2 separate regions of the Homo sapiens genome follow, and region 1 is linked to region 2. Evidence: promoter capture Hi-C in human tissues and cell types (Jung and others, 2019). All regions are on one chromosome and are shown on one strand. Each heading gives the region's core, a stretch centred on a gene start or on the middle of the fragment in contact. The rest is flanking DNA. Distances are from core to core; before and after follow the strand shown. Region 1 overlaps LOC107986454 (a long non-coding RNA gene). Region 2 holds the start of ARAP3 (ArfGAP with RhoGAP domain, ankyrin repeat and PH domain 3).

What was found. The method cuts DNA at HindIII sites, captures the fragments that hold promoters and counts their contacts. A contact is called where the count stands out against the background at its distance.
Region 1: a contact is called between a fragment that was not itself captured here and the fragment with the promoter of ARAP3 in region 2, in 2 of the 25 tissues and cell types used here (aorta and neural progenitor cells).

Annotation. Positions count from the first base shown.
Region 1 is chr5:141,813,759-141,820,860 of GRCh38, forward strand. The region is part of intron 1 of LOC107986454 (a long non-coding RNA gene); the gene reads right to left. Among named protein-coding and RNA genes, the nearest start is that of PCDH1, 61 kb to the right of the region's middle. RefSeq lists enhancers at 1,892-2,883, 2,884-3,874. The HindIII fragment of the contact is 6,731 bases long and covers 1,113-7,102 here.
Region 2 is chr5:141,680,715-141,688,052 of GRCh38, forward strand. ARAP3 (ArfGAP with RhoGAP domain, ankyrin repeat and PH domain 3) reads right to left here and starts at 1,516. Exons shown (of 33, transcript NM_022481.6): 1 at 1,459-1,516. RefSeq lists a silencer at 1,516-1,565. The HindIII fragment of the contact is 12,570 bases long and covers 1-7,338 here.

The sequences.
Region 1 (7,102 bases), core at 3,228-5,727, 140 kb after region 2:
CTGCATCTCCAGTACTATTATCATTTTACAGATAAGGAAACTGAGACACAAATTAAGTAACTTGCACAAGGTCACTCACCCAGTTAGAAATAGTAAAGTGAGGATTCAAGCCCAGGTTTTCCTGACTTCGGTGCATGTGTTTTAAGCCTCTGTTAGTGTCCATCTCCCCCATTAGATTCAAAATCGCTGGCAATGCCTAGCACAGTGCTGGCGAGTAGTAGGCACTTGAGAGCTGTTTTGAATTGGCTGGTGGTCTCTGGAAAGGTCTGCCTGGGCAGCTGAGAAGGAGGGACTGAATTGGCAGTGCCAGGGTGTTGAGTGCCCTCTAAAGGCCCTCAGGTTTTGCTGGGGCCTGGATGAGCTGGGCCAACCTCATGAAAGGCAAATGCCACTGAGGCTACATCTCAGCCACACTACCTTACTGGGCCACCTTGGGTCTCTGGACTGACCTGTCCCTCAACCCCATGGATGCTGGGCCATGGCCCCCCCTAGTGGCCAGAGGGTCATGGTAGCGGTGGTGTGGGATGGGAGTGAGGGCAGCTGGAGATCTCACAAACAGCCCAGTGGGCTTCCTTCCCTCTGAGCCCTATTCCTAGGTTCCAAGCTCTCTGAGGAATTGGAGCCAGATGCCTCAGGAAACTGTCATTGTGGAGCCTGGCCCCTAACCGAGGCCTAGAGAATGAAGCAAACCCCCTTTTTCCCCATTACTCCCCTCCACCCAGTAAGAGCCCCTTTCCCTCCTGCCCCATTTGAAATGAAGGGGGTAGTGTTGGCAGACAACTTCCATCACAGCCCGCCTCCCACCAGGGTTGATTCCACCCCCATCCCTGCCTTACATTCCACAGAAAAGGGTTTGAGGCTGAGGGTTGTCTGACAGGAAGCATCGCATGATGCTGCTTCCCACCCAGGTTAAGGTTTTGATCTGGAATCCAGGAGCTAGAGTCCCAGGGGGCTTACATCAGAGCTGCTCCCCGACCCCAGACACGCATACACCACCCGCCTCCCCCAGGAGGCACCTCAGCTTTGAAGGCAGGGCTCCTGACAGGCTGCCGTTCCCATGGCAACCCCATCCCAGGCTGCCCTACCCAGCACTTCCTTCCACCCCCCTTCCTCCACCCTGAACCCGCATCACCTTCATTCATAGAACAAGAGCTGCTTCACATTGGCAAAGTGGACACCCCTTCCCCCAGTTCTCTCCCTTTTTTTCTTCCTCTTCTTATTCAATGGAGAACCCAAAACCAGAGAGAGAGAAATGGATGGCAAGAGTAGGACTAAGGTGGATGAGGGGTAGGACAGGAATGGGAAGGAGCCATGGCTCAGTGCCTTCTGCCAACCTGTGGACCCCCCAACTCCAAGGCTCCAGTGTCTACTCTCATTCCCAGATCTGTCTCAGTTCATGGATCTGTGCCTCTCCCAGCTCTATCTCTGTGGAGATCCAAGACCTAGCCAGGCTGTCTGATGGCCTTATGGCTCCAAGCATAGCAGGGCCAGGTCCCAGCCTCCAGGCCCAGGTCTCCAGCCACCAGCCAAACTGTAGCTCAGAGGCCAGGTGCAACAACTGGGCTCTGGAACTCAGCCTAGGAGTACTGAGGCTGCTCCTGTCCCTAACTCTGGTGCCCCTCCAGCATAAGACACTACCTTGCAGAGGTCACTGGGGAGTGAGGGGACTCTAATTTACAGTAGGATTGTGGGAAGGGCTAGAGGGGAGTCTCAGACTCCAGCCCTGGTTAAACAATGCAACTTCTCCTGCTGGGAGAAGGAAACTTGGCTTTTGGACCATTGGCAGGTGCTGTTGGAAAGTCAGGACAGGCATCAATCCCATCTCTGCAGGAGGTGCTGAGCAATGGTCAGCAACTCAGCTTCAGAATCAACCAGCCTGGATTTGAATTATCATGCCCTAATTTATTCACTGTGTGATGCCTACCTTCTCCAAGACTTGCTTTCCATATATGAAAAATGGAGATAGTAATTATATATAGGTATATGACCAATATTTATAAGCTCTACCACCCTTCCAGAGACAGTGCTTGAGATGTAATCTCGTTTAATCCTCATAACAGCCCAGTGAGGTAGATATTATTATTACTATATCTAGTTTATCCTACAGAGAGGAAACTGAGGCTCAGAGATGTTAAGGTGGTTAAGGTGACCCAGCTATGGGACTTTTTCTTTAACAGACAGGGTCTTGCTATGTTGCCCAGGCTGTTCTCGAACTCCTGGGCTCAATCAATCCTCCCGCCTCAGCCTCCCAAGAAGCTGGGACTACAGGTGTGCAGTACCACTGTGCCTGGCTAGGAGCAGAGCTTTTAATCCCAGGCCCTATAAGAGAATGTATGCACAGTGTCCAGCAGCTGCTAACTAACCAGTAAGTGAAGATTTTCTTATTAGTGAGGTTCTAGGCCCTACATTGGCCTCATCTCTCATTTCCCTCACTCTGGGGATATACAGCCTCCACTGGCAACCAAGATTGTGAACTTACTGGGTGAGAGTCAGGAAGGAGCCCAGGCTTGGTGAGATTGAGGATGTGGTATGGAAGGGACCTAATTTTGTGGCTGTGAGAGACCATCTCTAGCTGGCCCTTCAACTGTGGAAATAGAGCAAGAGGGTGAGGCCTCCGGGAGGCAGTGGCTTGTCCAAGGTTACCTGGTGAACAGACAGCTTCACTCCTCCTCAGCCCCCCAACCCAACCCTTTGGACAACACATCAAGGTCAGAAGCCTCTGAGGATTAGAATCTCTGGAGAAGGGTGGAGAGGTGTAGAGGGGAAGCAATATTTGTACTAAAGGGAGCTGTCCTGGAGCTCAAACCCACACAACCAGACTTGGAATCCTCACCTCCCTTAAGGCTCACCCCCAGCCCCTCCAGCTTCCATCCACCCCTTCCCCGAGCAGCCCCGCCCCTCGAAGAACCTCGGAACACTGGGGCCTAACCATCTCCCCCCATCCCCCATCTTGAGTGAATGTGCCGAACAAACAGCATTGTTCCCTACACAATGGACACAAAGAACTTGGGAATTCACAGAATGGTCCTGAATTTCTGCTTCCTTCCCCTCCAAGCCCTAGAGAGATCCATTGTCTGTAAACTCCACTTAAAATATGCACCATAGCTCCAGCTGGGGAGCCACTTAAGACTTGCGGAAGCTCCTCCTCCCACCCCCACCCGCTGCCTTCCCTCCTTCCTAGCCCTTTCAGAGCTAGGCAGAAAGGAGGGGGAGCAGCAGCCACCTAGAGTCCCTGATGGAGTCTGAAGCTGGGAACGACCCTGTCCACCCCCAAGTTCCTTAAGTCAGACGCTTATCTCACTGGGTCAGACCCAGCACCACTCAGCACCTGGGGCTCCCATTGTTACAGCTGCGTTGGGGTTGAAGGACCTGGTCAGCTGGTGGACTACTAATCACAGAACCTTGATGCTGACATGAAGACTCCCTGGGGCACCTCCCTCTATTCTCCTGTCTGCTTACAGACCCCCAAGGACAGGGAACTCACTACCTCCTAAGGCACCTGTTCTACCCCTGAAACTTCTCATTCTTATAAGACCTTCCTTAGAAGGAACCCCACCCACTTCTCCTTAACAACCCACTTCTTCACCTCCCTGCTCCTATGTTAACATGGTCTTCCTCTGCAATGTGACAGCCTCGCAGAATTTGAAGGCTGCCAATATATTTTGAATATACTGAATATATTGAATATATTGAACATAGAACACATTTGAAGGCTGTCAATATATTCCCCTGTATAAAGGGGATACAGATAAGTTACACAGGTAAGATAACAAGCCCTCAGGCTGGGAATGTGACTCATGCCTGTAACCGCAGCACTTTGGGAGGCCAAGGCAGGTGGATCACTTGAGGCTAGGAGTTCAAGGCCAGCCTGTCCAACATGGCGAGACTCTGTCTCTACTAAAAATACAAAAATTAGCTTTGTCGTGGTGGCGGGCACCTCTAGTCCCAGCTACTCTGGAGGCTGAAACATGAGAATTGCTTGAACCTGGGAGGCAGAAATTCCAGTGAGCCAAGATCGGGCCACTCTACTTCAGCCCAGGCAACAGAGCGAGTATGTCTCAAAAAACAAACAAAAAAATCTCAGATAACCAGCTTTCCCAGAGGGTTGTAATTCTGGTGGGAAGTCAGATACTAATATCAGATAAGATAATGCATAATTACTAAGTAAGATAAGAAGTTGACTATAGGAACTTGGTAATATGAAAGCATCTAACAAAGGAAACTGATCTAGTGTAGAAGGTAGAAGGGTGACCCACCGTAGGCTTCCTGAGAGCTAAAGAAAGTAGGATTTGGCCGGACACACTGGCTCATGCCTGTAATCCCAACACTTTGGGAGGCTGAGGTGGGTGGATCACCTGAGGTCATGGGTTCAAGACCACCCTGGCCAACATGGTGAAACCCCATCTCTACTAAAATACAAAAATTAGCCTGGCATGGTGACACATGCCTGTAGTCCCAGCTACTCAAGAGGCTGAGGCAGAAGAATCACTTGAACCTGGGAGGTGGAGGTTGTAGTGAACAGAGATTGTGCCACTGGACTCCAGCTTGGGTGACAGAGTGAGACTCCATCTCAAAAAAAAAAAAAGGCCAGGCACGGTGGCTCACGCCTGTAATCCCAGCACTTTGGGAGGCCAACGTGGGCAGATCACCTGAGGTCGGGAGTTTGAGACCAGCCTGACCAACATGGAGAAACCCCGTCTCTACTAAGAATGCAAAATTAGCCGAGTGTGATGGCACATGCCTGTAGTCCCAGCTACTCAGGAGTCTGAGGCAGGAGAATTGCTTGAACCCGGGAGGCAGAGGTTGCGGTGAGCCGAGATCGTGCCATTGCACTCCAGCCTGGGCAAGAAGAGAAGAGAGAGGAAAGAAGAGAGAGGGGAGGGGAGGGGAGGAGAGGGGAGGGGAGAGGAGAGGGAAGGAAAAAGAGAAAGAAAGAAAAAAAGAAAGAAAGAAAGAGAAGGAAGGAAGGAAAGAAAGAAAGAGAAAGAAAGAAAAAGAAAGAAAGAAAGAAAGAAAGAAAGAAAGAAAGAAAGAAAGAAAGAAAGAAAGAAAGAAAGAAAGAAAAAAGGATTTAATTCTGGAAAGAGGGGAGGAAACAGTATGCAGGGTGATGGGATCAGACTGTGCAAAGATCCTGTGGCAGGAGGGAATCCATCTTATTCAAGGACCTGAAGAAGCCAATGGGATTGGAGGCCAGTGGGTGGGGTTGTAAGACTGTAGGTCTCAGTGAGGAGGTTGGCATGATTCTAACAGCAATGGAAAGATACAAATGTGTACGTGCAATAAAAGCTGATTGACATTTGCCTCAGAATGACACAGATTCCTAGAGTCACTGGCCCAAAGCAATTCTTCCGAGCTTTTGCACTTGCTGTGCCCTCTGCCTGGAATGCTCTGTTTCCAGATTTTTTCTGAGGCTGATTTGTTCTCATCATTTAGGTCTTGACCCAAACCACTCGTCCTAAAGGAGCTCCCTCTACATGCACTGTTGCTCTCTATCCCTTTATCTTGTTTTATTATTTTTACAGCACTTTCACGATCTAAAACTAAATTGTTAATTTCTTTGCTTTACTGTTACTCTTTCCACTCGCTAGAAAAAAAGCTCAGTATGGGCAGGAATTTTGCCTTAGCGACTACCACATTCTAGCGTCGGCATTGTGCTAGCCCACAGTAGGGCCTCAATAAATAATAAATGAACAAATGAATGAATTACTGAATACACACCAAGATAAAAGGGCCAGTATTTACCCACAAACATACACATATAAATGTATGGTTATTCATGGGCAAGTGCATGAGTACCCACGGTGACTCAGAGATTTCCCTCGCCCACAAGGACCACCTCTCAAGGGGCCTTTTAGGCAATCCAGAGCCTGTACAGTTCATTGCCCTAGTCTAGCTAATCAATATACACCTCCTCTGGCTGGATGAGGACCTGCACAAGCAGACCTGTCTCAGGTCAGCCATTGGTTAATCAAAGACGAGGGTGGAATTTAAAGTGCCCTATGGAGGGGCAGTGAAAACAGATTGATCCATGTGGCCTGGACACAGTAAAACCCCTTACAGGCTCCATTTATTTCCCACCTCTCATCTCCCCTCTCCTCCTGGGGCCCCAGCCCATCTTCCACTGCTCCCCATTTCCCACTCTACTGGAAGTGGCTGAACCAGGCATTGTGTGGGACTCAGGACAAATAGATTAGAATTTAGTGGGGTTTTACAGGGTTTGGGAATTTGACTAGGTGGGCAATATTTTAAACAAGCATTTATTGTCTTAGCAAGTACCTACTAAGTGCAAAGCTTGGCTAGGGACTGCCAGATTCATTACATAATAGCTGATTCAGGGCAGACTGTGAAAAATGATTTAGTCAGAAACCCTAAAGGTGGAATCCCTGTGTTCCCAAGGTACATGTCAGAGTGGGACACAGTTAATTCCCAGTTGGGGAGCTCTGGGATAGCTTACTAGAGTATCATTCTAAATAACTACCACTTTAATAGAGCACTTACTGTGTAAGCACATTTTACATGTGACCTTTCTGATTTAATCCTCACTCTTAAGCCTCTGGGTATGTGTGATTGCTATTATTATCCCATTTACAGATGGGGAGACTAAGGCTCAGGGAGGATTAAGCGAGTTGCCCAAATTTTCCACAGCTATTAAGCGGCAGAGTAGATTTTCAAGCTCAAGAGGAGACGCCAGAGTCCCTGCTCTGGGACCCCACCATGACAATGGCTATAGCTGTGCCTTGACGCAAAGGTAGGACTTACTTAGGTGGGAAGATAGGAGAAGTCCATTCTAGGAAGAGGACACAGTTTGAGAAAAAGCTGATAGGCAACGGTGCCAGAAGTTTTTCTGTGTGTGTATGGATTTTGTTTGTTTGTTTGTTTGAGACTGAGTTTCGCTCTGTGGCCCAGGCTAGAGTGCAGTGGTGCGATCTCAGCTCGCTGTAACCTCCGCCTCCCAGGTTAAAACGATTCTCCTGCCTCAGCCTCCTGCGTAGCTGGGATTACAGGCATGCGCCACCATGCCCGGCTAATTTTTTGTATGTTTAATAGAGTCAGGGTTTCACCATGTTGGCCAGACTGGTCTCCAACTCTTGACCTCAAG
Region 2 (7,338 bases), core at 266-2,765:
GGCCCAGAGAGGGGAAGGGGCTTGCCCCAGGTTCACAGTAAGTCAGTGCTAGAGTTGGCCCCTCAGTTCCTGCCCACCCTGGGTCTGGGTCAAAGCTCTGCTCCTGCCTGACTGCACATCCAACTGAGTAAGCATGGGACAAGATGCTAGAATGCTGTGGGTCAGAGTGGGATAGGGAGATGCAGAGGAGGGGCCAATGATGTGGCCAATCAGCTCTGGAGTAAGGTAGGGAGAGGGGCAGCCTAGATAGGAGGAAGGAGGTGCAGACGCCCCCTCCCTCTTGTTTCCAGAGCCGATGTATGCAGGCCTGCCGTCCTAATCCTGGTTGTTCCCAGTCCCTCCTCCCCTTCCACCTATTGTCTCTGCTCAGACTTCCTTCCTGTCCCTCCAGCCCTGGCCGCCTCCACATCCTGCCTGCTTTGGTCAGGCTGCCGGGAGAGCCCTAACCAGTCCTAATGTGTGGGGTCCCGGCCCTGGGTGGAGGCTAATTGAAGAATAAGGATGGGGATGCCAGAGAGATGAGGCCTGACCTCTGGTCAGGGGTACTCCAGAGGCTTCTGGACTCTCTGCCCACCGGCAGCATGTTCACATGCTGTTCACCTGTGTGTGCACATGCCCTGTAGCGATTTGGCAGTGTGAAATGCCATCCCCCCACCTCTGCTTTCTCCAAGCCTTCCTTTTCTGAGCTTGCCTTTTCCCTGCTCATTCCCTTGGGCTCAGGTCTCTGTGCTCTGTCCCCCTTCCACCAGCCTGACCCCGACCCTGACCCTGGTCTATTTCATAGACCTGTCTCTAATTCTGTGGCCCCTGAGTTTTATCTCTGCCTTGTCACTGTCCCTGCCCCATTCCATCTCAACCTCTCAATTCTTCTTTGTCCCTCTCCTTGTCCCACCCTGTTTTGCTCTCTGTTATTAAGCTTGTCCTTGACTCAGTCTACAATTCTAACCAGATCTTGAGTTGTATCTGTGTCTCTGTCTGCCTCTGAGCCTGGGTTTCTGTCTTCCGCCTCGGCCTAGGCTCTCTCCCTGTTACTCTTGTGCTCTGTCGGTGACCAGGACGCCCTCTCCGTCCCAGCATCACTGCTGGCCTCCCTCTGCCTCTCTCCAGCTGGGCCTCATTCCCAAGCCAGGGCCCGCGTGCTGAGCCTCGGGCCCTGACTCAGGGCCCGGTTTCCCGGTGACTCAGGCCGGGCTCGACAGCACGGGGCTGGGAGCTGAGGTGCTCGCGGGACAGGAGTGGCGGGGGCGGGGCGGGCAGTGGCGGGCAGCGCAGGCTGCGACGAGGGAGGGGGCGAGGAGGGATGGGGCAGAGGCCGGGCAGCAGGAGGGAGGGGCGGGTCGTGGCAGGGATGGGGAGGGCCGCCGGCGCCGAGGGGGCCTGGGAGCCCACGAAGGCCCTCGAGAAGGTGATGGGGAGGAGTCTGGGAAGCAGGGACCCGGGGGGCGCGGGGGTCCTCACCTCACTACGCGGCCGCCGTCCGCTCGCGGGTGCCCGCCGCTCGTCCGAGGTTCTGGGTCCCGCCGCGCCGGCCCCGCCTCCCCTCTGCCCTCCCTCGACGGGCCCAGCCCCGCCCCGCCCGGCCGGTTCCCTCCGCGGGGCCCCGGCCACTCCTTGTGCAAGCGCAGGCCTCCAAAGGGTTTGGGCTTCTTGCCCAACCGCCGCGCTTATCTCCGAGTCTGCCCCCAGTCTGCCCTCTCGCAGGCCGAGAAAGGACCAGAACACGTTGGGACGAAGACAACCTCAGGGAGAGGGACAAAGAGGCAGAGACCGGGACGGAGACTGGGACGGAGGTAGAAACTGAGAAAGGGAGAGTGCCAGGGACGGCTTTGCATCCTCTCCGCTGCTCCCATGCCCTCCAGTCCTGCCAAAAGGGAGGAGGAAAGGTCGAGCCCTAATCCCCCAGGGCACCTCTCCCACGCCCGGAAGGGTGGCTGGACCCTGGCAACCAGTTTAGTGTGGGGACGGAAGCTGGACATCCAGAATTGAGACTTGGCCTGGGCAACAAGCGCAGAGGCCCAGCAGAGGGGTACCCGTCTGTTTCTCCCCACTTCCATCCCCAAGGGCCCGGCCTAGGTTCCTTCGAGGGATGAAGGTCCGCAAGGCACATCCCTACTTCCAAACCAAGGTTTGGGGCTGCCTTTTTGGGACAGGCGGACGCCCTGCAAGCTCAGTGACCAAGCAAGCAGCTGTTTCATTCATGGGAGAAGCCGCCCCTTCTCCCCAACTCCCACCCTAAAATTTCAGGGGGGATGCCGGGGAGGCCTGAAGAGGAATGGCCCTTCTCTCCTTCGCTAATCTTGCCGGAACCCCGGTCCTGGAGCCTGTCTCCCAGGGGCGGAGGCACTTCCCTCTCTGAGCAGGACCAGTGTTTGGGTGTGGGGGGGGGGTGTTTGTGTGTGTGTGTGTGTGTGTGTGTGTGTGTGTGTGTGTGTGTGTGTGTGTGTATGTGTTGGGGGTGGCGGGGGCGCTGGCCGGCTGTGTTTTCCTGTTTGTATGAGAGGAAGTTGGCTGTGAGTCAGCAGACACAGGAACTGTCAGTAGCTAGGGGAAGACCCCTGCCTCAGGGGAAGAAGAGGGGAGTGGGAGGAAGTGGTTCCCACCTCTTCCAGCTGCCTCAGCTAGGGGAGGGACTGTCATCTTCAACCTACTGGAGCCCCACTTTCCCGGCCTTCCCTTTGAGAAAGAGAATTATAGTAATAAAATAATAATTGCAATAGCCATAATAAGGGCTACCAATTATTGAGAGCTGACCGTGCTCCAGGATCTATGTAAACATTGCTTTGCAAACTTTAATCCTCACAAATATCCCTACAAATAGGAAATTTTATCACCTCTATTTTACATATAAGGAGACAGGGAGCATTAAATAACTTGCTCAAGACTCTGCAGCTAGAAAATAGCCAACCCTCCAAGTCTATATCTATAACTACCATGCTCACCTACCACCCTGGACAGGACCCCTGCACCATGTCCTTTTTTTCAGATGGGCAACTGTGGTGGCAGTGAGAATGCTCCTCACAGATCTTACACTGTGAGGAGTGAAATTAACCAATGGCCCCAGCTGCTTCTCTCTGAAATCTAAGGCCAGCTTCCCACTGGGCTGCTCCCAGCCAGTGACAGAGCTCAGCAGAGATCTAAGGCAGACCCATTCCTGGGAGATAGGGGACTCCTTTGACAGCTGACTTTGGATCAAGATTTCCCAATGGCTTTGCTGAACTTTCCTTTGACTGGTGTTTTAGGATGCTCCTCTCAACCTTTATTCCTTCCCTCTCTCCTTCACAGCTCTCCTAGCTCCAGGCTCCCTTCCTCTCTCACAGGCATCTCCCCTAGTCAAATCCTTGCATTCTGCCTTGGCAGCTTCTTCTTTAAGGACTCAGACTAACCCAGCAAAATAAGGGAGCAGGAAAAGACAGTAAAGGGCACAGGGAGTTTTGAGGAATGGATGCCGGGGAGTTTGGGTCAGGGGCTAGATGCAAGAGTTCTGAACCTTTTTGTGCCATGTTCTCCTTTGGCAATACGGTAAAGTATGTGGTCTCATCTCAGAATAATATTTTAAAATGCATAAAATAAAATATATAGGATTGCAAAGGAAACCAATTATGTTGTAATACACATATAAAACCGATGTGATATAGTAATATATGTGCTTCTTTATTAATGCTTTAAATAAGATCTAGTGGTAGGTTGATACCTCACATAACTTTGATGCAGTGATGAGCATAAATGGTATTTCAAAAGATCTGCAATATTGTAATATGATATAAAAATATATGTGATTTCTACTGGTGACAAAGCCATAGTTATGGCTAAAATGACTGGTTTGTTGCTATTGTCATAATTGGAGGAAATGTTAAATTTCAGCTAGAGATTAGTGAAAGTAATATTCTTTTCCCATCCAAGTCCACTGACTCCAAGTTAAGGACACCAATGCCAGATGATGGGGCAGAGCCACAGAGAGGGAGACCTGGCTTCCTCCCTCAGACCCCACTTCCCTTCTTTGGCTCAATGATATGGGGCAGGTGGAGGCTTCTGGCCCCTGGCTTGTGTCTTCCTGAGTTCAAGCAATTCTCGTGCCTCAGCCTTGTGCCTCAGCCTCCCGAGTAGCTGGGATTACAGGTGCCTGCCACTACACCCAGCTAATTTTTGTATTTTAGTAGAGACAGGGTTTCACCATGTTGGCCAGGCTGGTCTCAAACTCCTGTCAGGTGATCCATCCACCTCAGCCTCCCAAAGTGCTGGGATTACAGGCGTGAGCCACCATGCCCGGCCGAAATTAGTAAATCTTAAATCTTAATCTTAACACATAGGACAAAAGGGACACTAGTGAGCAGAGGAAGAGGAAGAATGAAGCAATGAGGAGATGTGGAAGGGAATTCTTCAATAGCCCCTTCCATGTCTCGATTTGTTCCCCACTCAAATGATAGACTATTAAGCCACAATCACTTTGGAGGCCACTTTGTTCACCAAAAGTGGATGGTATGCAGTAATTAAGAACAAGGTCTCTCGGCTAGGCACTGTGGCTCACACCTGTAATCCCAGCATTTTGGGAGGCCAAGGCAGGAGGATTGTTTGAGAGCAGGAGTTTGAGGCCAGCCTGGGCAACATAGCAAGACCTCGTCTCTACTAAAAATTTTAAAATTAGCCAAGTGTGGTAGTGTGCACCTGTAGTCCCAGCTACTCAGGAGGTGGAGGTGGGAGGATTGCTTGAGCCAGGAGGTGGAGATTGCAGTGAGCCGAGATCGTACCACTGCACTCCAGCTTGGGTGACAGTGAGGCCTGTCTCTAAAAACAAAACAAAACACCACCACCAACAACAACAAAAACTAAAACAAAAGGTCAACAAAAAAACAGTCTCTAAAATAAAGCCCTGATGCCACCTCTACCAGCTGTGACCTGAGCAGATTATTCATCTCTATTTTGCCCTGTGTGCCTCAGTTTCCTTTTCTGAAAAAAGGAGAGAGAATAGTGCCTGACAGGGTTGTAAAGATTAATCTATGGAAATATATGGGTAATATGTGGAAAGGACCTGACATTCAATGAGTGCTCAAAGTGTTTCCTGTTCCTTGTTCCTATTTTTGCCAGTTACTTCCATGATAACTCTGGTATGCACCCAGCTTGCCTGTTTCTTCATCACTCTGGCATATCCCGTTACCTATTTTAATCAATCAGCCTGTGGCATCCTATTGCCAAATTAGACCACATTGTACCCCTTGTATTTTCCCCAGGGTCCCCAGTTGTCATCTTGTCTGTTCCATCACTTTTGTAACTCAATTTCCTGTCACCCCTGCAACTCCTGATCGCCTCCATGGTCTCCAGTGGCCTCCAGGTCACACTCCTTTCCTGCCCTTACCCTCTGGATGGTAAAAGGCACAGCCATCACCCACATTTGGTCCTGATGAGATGGGACAGGGCCTAGGGGGATGCCAAGGTGCAAGTTTCTTTTTATTTATTTATTTTTTTGAGACAGAGTCTCCCTCTGTCGCCCAGGTTGGAGTGGAGTGGTGCGATCTCGTATGACTGTAGACTCCGCCTCCCAGATTCAAGCGATTCTCCTGCCTCAGCCTCCCTAGTAGCTGGGATTACAGGCGCCCACCACCACATCCGGCTAATTTTTGTGGTTTTTTTTAGTAGAGACGCAGTTTCACCATGTTGGCGGGGCTGGTCTTGAACTCCTGACCTCAGGTGATCCGCCTGCCTTGGCCTCCCAAAGTGCTGGGATTACAGGCGTGAGCCACTGCGCCCGGCCGAGCATGTTTCTTACAGGAAGGAAGACTCCCATTCAATCCTTTCATTTATTTCTCATGTTTTTATTAATCATCTTTTCTGGACCAACCACTGCTCAAGGGTTTAGAGATGCAATGACGTGCTCAGCAGACTTTAGGGAACATGACCTGCTCAAGAAGTGAGACATTTATCAAACAACCCCCAAATAAATGTGTAATTACAAACCAAGATGAATTTTCTGAAGGGAAGCACTGTAAGAGCATATAACAGAGGCAGCTGACCTGGCCTGGGGGTCTGGGAGGCTTCTGCAGGGAGCTCTGCTTAAGTTGAGATCTCAGAAAGATGGGTAGGAGTTAAGCGGGATGGGAGGGAGTGTTCTAGGCAGAAGAACCACGAGTGCAAAGGCCCTGAGGTAGGAGTCAGCCTGGTGAGGAAGGGAGACAGATCAAAGAGACAGGGAGTTTGGGACCAGCTGAGACTGAAAGGATCTCAGGGGCCAGGCCATGCAGGCCCTTGGAGGGCTTGTATGAGATTTGGTCTCCATGCCAGGAGCCATGGGGAGCCAGGGAAGAGTTTAAGCATGGGGCAATAGACTCATGAATTTAGGTTTGAATTTTAGGAAGATGGCTGCATGGAGACTGGTTAGGGTCAGCACAGCCCTCCCTACCCCTAATTCCTCTGGCCTGAGGGCTGTGCCATTTCCCCCTAGACTCCAGAGCTACCCTCCAGGGAGCCCCTTCCCACTTCCCTCCTCACATTTTTGTGAGGATGAAGTCATCATTGAGGAGAGGAGGGAGTTCCAGGCCTCTACGCCTTCTTTATCCTGGAGAACTGGGGCAGCCCTGGGGTCAGGGGGAGGGAAGGAACAAACACAGAACACCTCCCTTCCCCTGCATCCTCATTCCCATGACTGGGCCCTGTCTCCTTCCACCCTAGGCTATTGACATGAGCTGTATTTACAAGATTTTTAATGCAATTTTACTGCAAAATGTTTTATAAAGGGTATCTAGTACTACAGCTAGTACTAACTCCCCTTAGGGCTTGGGGCAAGTCATCTCTCTTTGGGTCTCAGTTTCTCTATACATAAAATTAATGGCAGTGCTGTTTGATAGAATTTCCTGCAATGATGGACCGTGTTCTCTATTTGTGCTGTCCAGTATGGCAGCCGGTAGCCACATGTGGCCATTGAGAGGTTGAAATGAGGTTGGTGAGCCAGAAGAGCTGAATATTTAATTTAATTTAATTGTAATTAATTTAAATTTAAACAACCACTGGCTGCCAATATTGGACAGCACAGGCAAATCTTAAACTTTTTTGAGACTCTGGTGACAGTTATGGATCTCTCCCTAGAAAAACACCCTGCACCCAACTCTCAAAGACGAGGGCCCTTCCAATCCTATTTATGCATCCCAGGCAAAGCAGACTGTAGACTGCTGGGGCTCAGGTCCCTCATCTCCTCTTCCCTTCCTGCTGCCTTGAAAATGCTGAAATAGGGCTTTGCCTAGAGGCAGGAGAATGACAAGGATGACTCCAGGAATTAGCAGACCTTTGTTTAAAGCTTCTGGTGCACCACTGCACACATCTAAAGAAAGACAGAAGAGTGAAAGCAGGGGT